4 separate regions of the Homo sapiens genome follow, and all the other regions are linked to region 2. Evidence: promoter capture Hi-C in 16 types of primary human blood cells and fetal thymus (Javierre and others, 2016). All regions are on one chromosome and are shown on one strand. Each heading gives the region's core, a stretch centred on a gene start or on the middle of the fragment in contact. The rest is flanking DNA. Distances are from core to core; before and after follow the strand shown. Region 1 has its middle 89 kb from the start of MIR10522. Region 2 holds the start of MYO10 (myosin X). Region 3 overlaps BASP1-AS1 (BASP1 antisense RNA 1). Region 4 overlaps BASP1-AS1 (BASP1 antisense RNA 1).

Region 1 (2,908 bases), core at 363-2,862, 130 kb after region 2:
AGCAAGACTCCATCTCAAAAAAAAAACAACAAAAAAAACCCAGATTATAATTTTTTTCATATTTTTATTTGGTGCCCTAATGGAATAGGTTCCTTTTTCTATTCTGACATATGAATTACTCTTGTAATTCTCAAACTGTAAATGTTATTTATTTCTCCTTGTTTTACTTCCAAGGAAACCAAAATCATGGTATTTTGAAGACCAGAGATATGAGTCTCCGTTGTTTGGCATCCCACTGACCCCACATCTGTTTCGCTGCTAATGCTCTGCTGCCAGAACTATCCAAGCTGCCTCCCTCTGGGCCCAGGGACTATTGCTGAAGAGGTGGGTGTGTAAGATTGTAAGAGCTGGCTTTGTGGGAAAAAATTAGGTCAAGGTCAAACCCTCCAAATCAAGAAGGAGGTACAAAAATGCCTAAACAGCTGGTAAAGCAAGTTTAGTTGTCTTCTAAACTATTATGTGTCGCTTTTACATCCACCCCAACCAAAAAATATTCTGCCTACTTTCATGCGCGTCCGTGTGAAGAGACCACCAAACAGGCTTTGTGTGAGCAGTAAAGCTGTTTATTTCACCTGGGTGCAGGTGGGCTGAGTCTGAAAAGAGAGTCAGCGAAGGGAGATAAGGGTGGGGCTGTTTTATAGGATTTGGGTAGATAAAGGAAAATTACAGTCAAAGGGGAGTTGTTCTGTGGTGGGCAGAGTGGGGGTCACGAGGTGCTCAGTGGGGGAGACTTTTGAGCCAGGATGAGCCAGGAGAAGGAATTTCACAAGGTAATGTCATCACTTAAGGCAAGGACCGGCCATTTTTACTACTTTTGTAGTGGAATATCATCAGTTAAGGCAAGGACCGGCCATTCACACTTATTTTGTGGTGGAATGTTATCAGTTAAGGCGGGGCAGGGCATATTCACTTCTCTTGTGATTCTTCAGTTACTTCAGGCCATCTGGAAGTATACATGCAAGTCACAGGGGTTGCGATGGCTTGGCTTGGGCTCAGAGGCCTGACACTTACTATAGAGTTAAAGACAATTATTTACTAACAGGATGAAAATACCTTGTAACAGGCTGGGCGCAGTGGCTCACGCCTGTAATCCCAGCACTTTGGGAGGCTGAGGTGGGCGGATCACGAGGTCAGGAGATTGAGACCGTCCTGGCTAACACGGTGAAACCCCGTCTCTACTGAAAATACAAAAAATTAGCTGGGTGTGGTCGCGGGCACCTGTAGTCCCAGCTACTTGGGAGGCTGAGGCAGGAGAATGGCGTGAACCCGGGAGGCGGAGCTTGCAGTGAGCTGAGGTCCTGCCACTGCACTCCAGCCTGGGTGACAGAGTGAGACTCCATCTCAAAAAAAAAAAAAAAAAAAAAAAAAATCCCTTATAACAAGCCTCCTAGGTATAACACTCCCAATTATGAGTTGTGAAGATAAATCTCTGTCTCTCTATCTGTATTTTTCAGAACAATGCTTATATTTTGTGTAGTTAATTGCTATATATCTGTAACAAAAACCAAGCTCACAGGAGTTCAACACATAGAAGTTAAAAATAAGTCGGTCTTGTAACTTTTCCTTTTGGTTTTGTTGTTGGCTTTTTAACTTAATAATTTTAAGAAGTAACAAATGCTTGTCCACATCCATTCCTATCTGGCCTAGAACAATTAATTGGCTATAAGCCTTTTGACTCTTTTTTTTTTTTTTTTTTTGAGACGGAGTTTCGCTCTTGTTGCTCTGGCTGGAGCGCAATTATGACTTCTGTGACAAAACCTCCTTTCCTTTCCCAAATACCAGTATATGTGCAATACGAAGGTGGTAGGAAAAATAGATTTGTCTACTGTTAACAAGTCTATAACAATTTAGACATTTAGGACCAGGCATTCCTTGCACGTGATTTATACTCTTCTCAGGATGTTATACCTATGGAGATAAATTGGCTAGGAGAGATATTAAATTTATTGGATTCTGAGTTAATGTTGGTTCTACAATCTTCAAGTAAGATTTATCATAAAGTTCGGCCCGGCGCAGTGGCTCACACCTGTAATCCCAGCACTTTGGGAGGCCGAGGGGGGCGGATCATGAGGTCAAGAGATCGAGATCATCCTGGGCAACATGGTGAAACCCTGTCTCTACTAAAAATACAAAAATTAGCCGGGTGTGGTGGCAGGCACCTGTAGTCCCAGCTACTTGGGAGGCTGAGGCAGGAGAATCGCTTGAACCTGGGAGGCAGAGCTTGCAGTGAGCCGAGATCGTGCCACTGCACTCCAGCCTGGTGACAGAGCGAGACTCCGTGTCAAAAAAAAAAAAAAAAAAATTTTTTTTTAATCATAAAATTCGAGTGACCCTTTATAAGGAGGGTAAACACATTGTGAGTCTAATCAAAGAATATGATGCTGCGTGCAGTGACTTTTTTGGGCTGGTTAGGTTGTTTACTGCTCTCTGACTCATAATCTTATTGGATGCCTAATCTTTGCTATCTTTATGATATTTGTCACTGTATTAGCATTATATAGCTCCTGTAAATGTTACGCCAGATACAGCAAAAGGAAAAAGGCACAACTGAAGACCCAGATCATGATAGCTCACAAAATGGATCTGTTGCCAGATTTTTTTTTTTTTTTTTTTTTTTCCAGACTAAACCCTAGGCCTGACTTCATCTCACCCCTTAAACAATTGGCTATTATATCAGGTCAGACCGTGTCCTCTCCCCCATGATCCAAATCGCTAATATTTTAAAACTGTTACCACCAACCAGACTACTCCAGGAATGAGCCTTCCTAGCACTGAGAGACCTCGCCAAATGACCAAATCAGATAACTCTAGGAATGAGCCTTCCTAGCACTGTGGGACCTGTTGCTGTTTGGCCTGTATATGCATGCTATGGAATGCTTTTCGGCCAAGAGTGGGGACTGAAGACTAA
Region 2 (3,330 bases), core at 605-3,104:
TTAAACACCGGAACTCACTGTAGCCCGAGGGTCCTTTACCACTGGACAACGTGCAACTCTTGCAGAAAGTTCTGGTGCCTTTCGACAAGCATGAAAACAAAAGTCTATGGACTAGAAAATGCGAGCGTCTCACAATTATATATATTTCACTTTTTTTAAGAAAAGGAAAAATATGTATTGATGGATAATTCCTTTCTAGTCTTCCTTCCACAATGAATGTGGGTATCACATCTGAAACACCACTTTTAAAAACTAGATATGACTACTAAACAAGAATGCATTTATCACTTTGGCCAGTATGAATAGCTGTCTGAGAATACAGTCAGTGAGCATGCAGAAAGCAGAATGACTTGAAATATTATATCCAATTAAATCAGATAAACCAAGTCGGCTAACACAGAGGCAAGCCCTCATCAATCTGATTTGCTGGAAGACTCCAAAGCGGTTCTGCACTCAGAAAACATTCCCTGGCTTTCAACGAAAATCACATCAGACTCTCTCAAGTCAACTAAGTTTACTTTGAGCCACTTCAAACCTCAAACTTAAACAGAATTTATTAAATAAACACAACCAAGAAAGGAAAGGGAGCCAAGAAACCACAGTAAGTCTCGATCCCAAAGGGGGAAAAAGGGTTCTCAAGTTAAGTTTCAGTGTCCCACCCTCAACGACCCTAAAGAGGGCATCCGTTTCATCTATTAAAATAGCCACTGTTTGCCCTAAACGAATTTTCTTTACATTCGAATTCAAAATCTGCATGGACACTCTACACAAATACATGATCATTTGATCCCAGGGTCTGGAGTTATCCCAAGCCTTAAAAGAGCACTTCTCGGCGAGCAAAGTAACCGATTAAACCCTTGCCTCTCCTTCTCACACTTCATTAAGCCGTCTCCTCTGGAAGTGTTTGAACCCCTGCACAGGAAGCCCGCACGTTTTGCAAAGGAAATACCAGACAAGACCTTTCTTGGAGAAAGGCAGGTCCCCGCTGAACATTTTATTGGGCTTCCTGCACCCGGGCAGTCGAGCGGGCGGATCGCCCCGCCCGCGCCCCGGCGCGCGCCGCCTCACCTGGCGCGGGTGTCCCAGGGCGCCCCGAGAGCCAGCCACCCACGCAAACGGAAACGCACCTTCGCTACCTCCCGGAGCAAAATGCGAGCGCGGGACAGGACGAAACAAAACCTGCCCGGGCTTACTCATCAGAGACTCCGCGGGGGGATGGGGGGTGATTTCAGGAGACTCCCAGAAAGTTGCGCCTTCCAGGGCTTAGGAAAAAGTACCCAGGGCGCGCGGCGTGGTGGGCAGACGCCTCTCTCCCTGGGCTCCGGAGGCCAGGTCGGACTGGGAGCGCACTTACCTCGGTGAAGAAGTTATCCATTGTTCCAGCGCAGTCCCGGACTCGCCGAGTGCCGCTCCGACTCGCGGAAGTCAGCGCCGCCGCGGGTCCGGGGAAACCATGCGTGTCACGGCGCCACTCCCGAGGACGCGCGCCCGCGGGGCTCCCCTGCTGCCATCGCCCGGTCCCTTCTTGTCCTTCTCACCTTTTGTTCGCCCAAACCCAAGTCCCTAACTCGCCCGTCCCGACGGCAGCCTTTGTCTCTTCTTCCTCCAAGTTCCTCACTACTGGGCGCAGCGCTCGCAAGCGGAGAACAGCTGGTGGCACATTCTTCCCCCAGGCGGGGGAAGGCGGCGGGGTGCTGGCGAGCGCGGCCCCCTCCCTCTGCGCTCCGGCCGGGGGCCCTCGGGGCGGGCAGGAGGACAGCGGGCCGCAAAGTGAGCAGGAGCCGCGATCCCCGCGCGAGCGCTTGGAGGTGAGCAGTCCCGCGCCGCGGCTCAGCCAGCTCTCGCCCGCGGGACTACAGCCCAGCGACCTCGCCCCGCCCTCCCGCAGCCGGCCCCGCCCTCCCGCAGCCGGCCCCGCCCTCCCGCTCGCGGCCCCGCCCCCAGGAGCTTGGCCCTCCGCCAACCACACCGTCTGGCCCCGCCCGGGCGGAGCGCCCCGCCCCCTTCCCGACCAGGCCCCGCCCACTCTAAGCCCGAAGCAGCCGCAGGCTCGTTAGCGGACCCGGGAGGGGGCCGCGTGTTTCCCCAGGTCTTCCCACGTAGGCGTGGGGAGGGGATTTAACTCTTCCCTCTGCAGAGAGAGACTAAACAATCACTTAGAGGGGAGGAGAAGGGACTGGGGGCTTCTGTGCCTTTCATGTTTAGCAGACCCGGGAACCGGCTCAACACGGATCTCATTAATGCAGCCCGGTAGACTAGCAATCTCGGGAAGGAAGCGCGGTCAGCGGAGCTGCCGGGGCTGCGGGGCCAGATCAAAGCGGAAGACGGAGGCTAATCAGAATTTCTGGAAGCTGCATTCCCGTGTTGACTTTCTGTCCTGCAGTCGGGTTTGCTTAAGACGTTTGCGTAACAGCGGGGAAATGTAGTTTTGAAACTGGAAGGGGACGTGGCCAATATCACCTTTAAAAATGTAACCCTTTTCTAGACCTCAAGGAAGCAGAGATGGCAGATGGCACTGAGATGGACGAATGATCAAACCCACCTGGCACTGAGTCCCGTTTCCCCTAGGGCAGTTCTTTTAACTTTATGCTGTGCGAGGGTCACCTGGGAACCTTGTTAGAACGCAGGCTGGAACAATCTGCTTTCCAGGTGCCCCTCAGGTGCTACCTGGTCCTGTGCTGAACGAAAGCTTGTAACAAGTAGAGAAATTAAGAGTAAACGTTTGTAGCAATTTAATAATGCCACGACATCCAAGCACATGATCAGTGGACTCTTTGAACCGAGTATAAACCAGTTTGGGTGTTGTCAGACTCACGTGGTGAGTCACACCTGGCGCCGCAGTGTATTGGTACCTGGCCGACTGGGAACAAAAATGGCTGGTTCTTCAGCACAAAAGATTTGAGATGCTCTCTCCAGGGAATTTGCCAACTGCTACTCAACCTTTAAAACTCAGCTCACAAAGTCACACCTTCCAGGGGAAGGAACCCTTCCCAAAGATGCTACTCCACTCACCCCACCCAAGCTCCCCGTAACCACTGGGCTAGATGCCCACTCTAGGATTTATTCCTAAGACTGTTGGGGAAGGACTGTGCTTTAAGATGAGTATCCCCAGGCTGTCTCACAGCATGAATGAATGAATGAAACATCCTTCTGTAATCCTTATGGGGAAAGTCAAGCATGTTTGTAACTTATCCCAGTCCAGTTCTTCACCATTAATATCATTGCTCCCACCTCACTTCCCTTTAGAAAGAGTCAAGGTGTAAATTAGTTAATGATATTGTGCAATGTTGTTCTGTTTCACAGGTTTACACGCTTAAGGCGCTGAGCCAT
Region 3 (2,963 bases), core at 274-2,773, 230 kb after region 2:
CAGGCCCTTGTAGAATCAGATAATCTTGAAGGGCATGCTACCCAGGAGACACCTGTAAGTTTATTTATAACTTGCCCATTCAACGTCTTTCACAAGTTGTCCTTACCTTGGTAAATAGGCAGATCGTATGGGCCTGCCTTGATGAAATTAGAAGAATGAAATTTTCTGGCTTTTCTTCACTTTGAGGTCAAGTAGTTTGCTCAAAGTTTTCAAGTGGTTGACACAGAATGATACTTTATTTGGGACAGGATCCATCCCATTCTCTCCTCCTGAACTTTCTTTTGTGAAGCTTCTCCTTCTGTATATTCTTAGTGTTCTGGGTCCTTTGCTTTGATCAGTGATTTTTTTTTTCTTTCTTTCTTTCTTTTTTTTTTTTTTTGAGACGCAGTCTCGCTCTGTAGCCCAGGCTGGAGTGCAGTGGTGTGATCTCGACTCACTGCAACCTCCACCTCCTGGGTTCAAACAATTCTCCTGCCTCAGCCTCCTGAGTAGCTGAGACTACAGGTGCGTGCCACCATGCCAAGCAAATTTTTATATTTTTAGTAGAGATGGGGTTTCACCATGTTGGCCAGGGTGGTCTCGATCTCTTGACCTTGTGATCCACCCGCCTCGGCCTCCCAAAGTGCTGGGATTACAGGCGCCCAGCCTGATAGGTGATTTTTACTTAGCATTGTAGATATTTCTTCCCTGAATCTTATCACCATCAGCCCATGCCTTTCTCTGTCATTATGCTGGGCAGGTCACAAAAGCAAATTTAGATCAATTATATGCTCTAGAAGAGTAACACAAACAGCCTTCTTCTATTTTATAACAGTTATACACACTATGATTTATACTCACTATCAATATTTCCATAACACCATGTAACTAGAAGTAGAGTCATGACAAAATAGGTGAAAAAGCCTTTAATGATTTGAGGAATTTTTGCTATTTCTTTTACAATAGCAGTCAAAAATGCCAGTCTGAGGAGTTTGAATTTAATCCTGTGATTCAGTGATCCCAAAGGCGCTGTGTCTTCTCAAAAGATGCAAAAGGTAATCCAGTTGGGAGTGGGCAAATATATTACAACTATTTGAATTTTATCTCATACTTTCATTAAAATTTAGTTTTTAAATTTATCTGCAGTAAAATTGAGTTTTTTTAATTGGTGTATAGTTTTCTGGATTTTAACACAAACATATAAGTTATTGCAACCTATTATAATAACATCACTATAATCAGGACATACAACAGTTTCATTACCCCTCCTCAATGACACAAGAGATCATGCCACACTTTTTTTTTTTTTTTTTTTTTTGAGACAGAGTCTCGCTTTGTCGTCCAGGCTGGAGTGCAGTGGCGTGATCTCGGCTCACTGCAAGCTCTGCCTCCTGCGTTCATGCCATTCTCTTGCCTCAGCCTCCCGAGTAGCCGGGACTACAGGCACACGCCACCACGCCTGGCTAATTTTTTGTATTTTTAGCAGAGACAGGGTTTCACCGTGTTAACCAGGATGGTCTTGATCTCCTGACCTCGTGTTCTGCCCACCTCGACCTCCCAAAGTGCTGGGATTACAGGCGTGAGCCACCACGCCTGGCCCATGCCACACTTTTAAATTTATATTTGTATATATATATAATTTTACAATATGCAAAATATATTAGCAAAGTAATGCATGTTTATAATTTTTAAATAATCCCATTTTAGAGGTGTGTGCTCAAATGTTTTTACTAAGAGAGGCATATGGATATCAGCTAAACTTTTGTTTAAGAAGATAATTAGGCAACTGAGCTAAAACAGAGAACCTGGAGGTTGGTGGACAAAGTAGGAGATGATTGTAATTCCTCAAGCAAGACATGCTGAAGGCCTAGACTAATGAGTGTCAGAGGAGGAAAGATGGATTTCAAAGACTTCTCCGAGGCGGGGTTGGGGAGGTGTTGGTAAATAGATGTGAGCATGAAGGAGAGGGAGAAATTCAGTTTAAATGTCAGGTTTGCTACGTGGAAAGCAGGGTTGGTGGTGGTAGCATTCATGGGGAACTTGACTGACTATAGAAGGCAGAGCTGATTTATGAACTGGGGAGAAACCATGATGTCATGATTTACATGATTTCATGTAAATGATGTGGAATAGTTTAGGTGATGGGATGCATATTGGAATTACCTTTTGGATTTATGCTAGATTATTCTAGCCAGTTGGAGCAGGTAAAAGATGCCTAGGCTCGTTTCCTATCTGTCATATAATCACCTCACACTCCTGGAAATGGGCTTTAAAAGGGACATTTCTTAATCCTTCTGAAAAATTGTAGTTCAGACTTTGGCCAATTAAACCTCAGGGGTGCTCTCAACTGGAAAACCACTTGGCACAGGGCAGTCAAGAACTGCTGTTAGTGGTCAGTGCCTGTTCTATCTTAACTCCTTCCCTGCTGAGAGGTCAGCTGGACTCCAGCAAAGGCCTGGATATGCATGAAAAAGGATGAGGGGTGAGGATGGAGAGGTGCATCTGTTCATCTGAGCATTCCCCTGTTTAGCTCTATAGCCAGGTCTGAGGCTATCATGGGCAAAAAAGGAAACCCAGAAGGGCCTTGAGCTTATTTTAAAGTCAAAGTGAAAGACTATAGAGTCTTAATTATGAGTTGATATCATTTCAGAAACTTTTCTCTTGTAGCCTTTTTGAGCAGTGGTCTCTCATGTTACAGGGGAGGCCTGTACCCCTAAAAGTATGCAAGAAAATTGGATACAGATGTATTCTTTAATCTGAAAAAAAATAAAGAAGACACTAAGCTTTACTGATACTTACACATGACTGAGAGCAAGCAGTTCACGTGTAGAGTTGATAAATAAGTGTCATACTGGGGATGCCTGGTCAGAAATCTTTTACTGATAGGGCCACATGACCCAGAAAGTTTGGGCTTTAATGGTGTATCAGAGAGATGAGAAGCAGGCAGGCTAGATAGAAGCAGATAGGTTTTTGCAAGTGAGAGG
Region 4 (3,217 bases), core at 711-3,210, 210 kb after region 2:
TTACCCAATTCGCTCTTTTGCTTTCTTCTAGCTATTCAAATTATCATAGTAGATATAAGTGAACTAAGAAAATTGGCAGAGTGCACTGGGATTCTTGTGATTTAACATTAAGTTTTGGCTCTAGCAGTCTTTCAGAACTTTGGGTAGGTCAAAAGATTTCTTAAGTCTCAGTTTATCTGGAGGAAAAGCATGAATTTCCTTCTGGTGTAAACTCATCGGTATTACAAAACAGGGCAATTACAGATCCACCAGAAGCAACTCTAACTTATGGATGCCTAGCTAAAGCCGAGCCCATACATCTAAATGGGTGGTGGAGATCGGGGTGGCAAGGATGGGTGTAATGGATTCCAGCCTTCATCTGCCCTCAGTGAAGGCAGAGGGCCACAACTCTTCTTCCCCCCACCTTTTTTAGAGACAGGATCTCATTCTGTTATGCAGGATGGAGCACAGTGGCTCAATCATAGCTCCCTGCAGCTTCAAACTCCTGGGCTCAAGTGATCCTCTTGCCTTGGCCTCCTGAGTAGCTGGGACGACAGGCATGTGCTATCTTGCCCAGTTTTAACATTTTTGTAGAGATGGTGTCTGTGTTGCCCAGGCTGGTCTCAAACTCCTGGCCCCAAGCAGTCTTCTCACCTCAGCCTCCCAAAGTGGTGGGAGTACAGGCATGAGCCACCATACCCTGTCTAACAACCTTTGTTTTTCTATTCTAATCGCCCCCAAATTTATTGACACATGGAAACATTTCCAAGTTGTGCTCAGGGCTTCTTTAGGTAGGGTAGCCAATTGTCTGTATTTGCCCAGAATGCTCTGGTTTTATCACTAAAAGTCCTACATCCTAGGAAGGCCCCTAGCCCTGAGAATATCAAGGTGCTCAGTCATTGTACACTCATCCCTAAGAGAAACACTGAGCACAACATGGTTCTGTAGTCAAAGAATCTTAGAAACCTCTTCCTCTTGTTTTCATTTAAAAAAAAAATTGTGGTAAAAAAACACATAACTTAGAATTTACCATCTTAATTATAGTCATGTGCTGCATAATGACATTTTGGTCAATAGTGGGCCTCATATATCATGGTGTTCCTGTAAGATTATAATATCATATATTTACATTATCTATGCTTTGATATGTTTGATATACAAAAATTTACCATTGTGTTACAGTTCCCTATAGTCTTCAGTACAGTAACCTGTTGTACAGGTTTGTAGCCTAGGAGAAATAGGCTCTACCATGTAGCTTAGGTGTGTAGTAGGCTATAGCGTCTGGGTTTGTGTGAGTACACTCTCTGATGTTAACACAGTGATGAAATAGCCTAACAATGCATTTCTCCAAATGTATCCTCATCATTAAGCAAAACAACTGTTTCTTTTTTCTTTTTCTTTTTTTTTTTTTTGAGACAGGGTCTTGCTCTGTCACCCAGCCTGGAGTGCAGTTGTGCAATCTTGGCTCACTGCAACCTCTGTCTCCAAGGTTCAAGCAATTCTCCTGCCTCAGCCTCCCAAGTAGTTGGGACTATAGGCGCACGCCACCATGCCCGGCTAATTTTTGTATTTTTAGTAGTGACGGGGTTTCACCATGTTGTCCAGGCTGGTCTCGAACTTCTAGCTTCAAGTGATCCACCTCAGCCTCCCAAAGTGTTGGGATTACAGGCGTGAGTCACTCTACCTGACCCATGACTGTATTTCTAAGCGTACAGTTCAGTGGTATTAAGTATGCTTGCATTGTTGTTTTTTTTTTTGAGATATAAAAGTCATAATAATATATTGAAGTATTTAATAAGCTTCTCAGTGAAGGAACTTGTTAAAACTTACTCTTTACCAAACTTCTGCGGTCATGGAGCCTTTGGGCAATAGCTCTTAACGCTGCTGAACATAACTTGAACATAATGCTCGTATGGAAACCCTTTTTTATCTTGCTCAGTAATAAAAGTATTGGACAATATTTTCCATTAAGCAAGTTTCTGCTTTCTGGAAGTATCTATAGACCTTCCCTAATTCACTTCAAGAGCTGAGAGAGAGACATGTATCTGATATCCAGAAGTTTAACTAAGAATATGTTTTTCCCTTAGTACAAAGGTGTTACAAGTGATGGTTAGAGTTACCAGAGTTGTATATGGGTTGAATAGGCTTTTATGCTTTGGCCTAGGAAGCTTCTCTCTGCAAAATTATCAGCTGCTTAGGAAGAACAGCTGGTACCTCTGGGGTCTGAATAGTGATTGGGACACAGTGGGCATTCAAGATATTTTTACTGAGCTGAACTAATGTTTATTTTTACTATTGCTTCCATTGAGGTAGTGAATTTTTTGTTTGTTTGTTTTTACTTTATTTTAATTTTTTGAGACAGGGTCTTGCTCTGTTGCTTAGGCTGGAATGCAGTGATGCGATCATAGCTCACTGCAGCCTCAATCTCCCGGGCTCAGGCCATCTTCTCGTACCAGCCTCCTGATTAGCTGGGACTACAAGTATACACCCTCACGCCTGGCTAATTTTTTATTTTTAGTAGAGACGAGGTCTTATTATGTTACTCAGGCTGGTCTGGAACTCCTGAGCTCAAGTGATCCTCCTACCTCGGCCTCCCAAAGTGCTGGGATTATAGGCCTGAGCTATTGTGCATGGCCAGTAATTAATTATGAATTATATATATGATACGCTTAGTTTAAAAACTGGAGACTACTTGTATTTATATTTGAAAGTTGTTTGTGATTAAAAAATTTTAAGGGTGGAATTTATAGTTTAAACCATCTTTTAAAATTTCCCACCAAAATAGCTTTCTTTGTGATGATAGTTCTATTTCTGAGAAAGAGCAGGCACAACTGCCGAATTCCAGATGTCAGAACATGGCATGGGCTCCAAAAATGGCAGCCAGGGCTACCATATGAGTTGGCAGTTCTCACAGAGAAGTCCTTGGAGAAGTTAAAAGTGGATGTAGATGAAGAGAACGTTGTGTATTCCAGCTAACATCAGAATGGAAGCCAGAATCTACGTCACCCAAATCCTGGGCTGATGAGCTCTTGTTATACTTTATCTTGGTATTCTTCAGAATATGTCTTCCCTGGAGAAAACATAAGGTGAGGATTCAATTCCAAGGTCAAATGAGTTAGCACAAGCTCTTTTCCCTTCCTCCTTCAATACCTAGTAAATTGGTATTATATTTTCTTTTCTTTTTTCTTTTCTTTTTTTTTAGAGACGGAGTCTTGCCCTGTTGCCCAGGCTGGAGTGC

Evidence for each region. The method cuts DNA at HindIII sites, captures the fragments that hold promoters and counts their contacts. A CHiCAGO score of 5 or more calls a contact.
Region 1: a contact is called between a fragment that was not itself captured here and the fragment with the promoter of MYO10 in region 2, in 1 of 17 cell types (endothelial precursors). The highest score is 5.6, in endothelial precursors.
Region 3: a contact is called between a fragment that was not itself captured here and the fragment with the promoter of MYO10 in region 2, in 4 of 17 cell types (endothelial precursors, M0 macrophages, M2 macrophages and 1 more). The highest score is 11.2, in endothelial precursors.
Region 4: a contact is called between a fragment that was not itself captured here and the fragment with the promoter of MYO10 in region 2, in 5 of 17 cell types (endothelial precursors, M0 macrophages, M2 macrophages and 2 more). The highest score is 8.5, in endothelial precursors.

What each region holds. Positions count from the first base shown.
Region 1 is chr5:17,065,377-17,068,284 of GRCh38, forward strand. No RefSeq gene overlaps it. Among named protein-coding and RNA genes, the nearest start is that of MIR10522, 89 kb to the right of the region's middle. RefSeq lists an enhancer at 523-1,104. The HindIII fragment of the contact is 5,549 bases long and covers 1-2,908 here.
Region 2 is chr5:16,934,434-16,937,763 of GRCh38, forward strand. It overlaps MYO10 (myosin X), which reads right to left and starts at 1,855. Exons shown (of 41, transcript NM_012334.3): 1 at 1,355-1,855. The coding sequence starts at 1,375. The HindIII fragment of the contact is 4,395 bases long and covers 1-2,687 here.
Region 3 is chr5:17,165,305-17,168,267 of GRCh38, forward strand. The region is part of intron 1 of BASP1-AS1 (BASP1 antisense RNA 1); the gene reads right to left. It overlaps LOC105374664 (a long non-coding RNA gene), which reads left to right. Exons shown (of 4, transcript XR_001742614.2): 2 at 946-1,034. Among named protein-coding and RNA genes, the nearest start is that of MIR10522, 11 kb to the left of the region's middle. The HindIII fragment of the contact is 2,473 bases long and covers 288-2,760 here.
Region 4 is chr5:17,147,809-17,151,025 of GRCh38, forward strand. The region is part of intron 2 of BASP1-AS1 (BASP1 antisense RNA 1); the gene reads right to left. Among named protein-coding and RNA genes, the nearest start is that of MIR10522, 6.6 kb to the right of the region's middle. The HindIII fragment of the contact is 369 bases long and covers 1,777-2,145 here.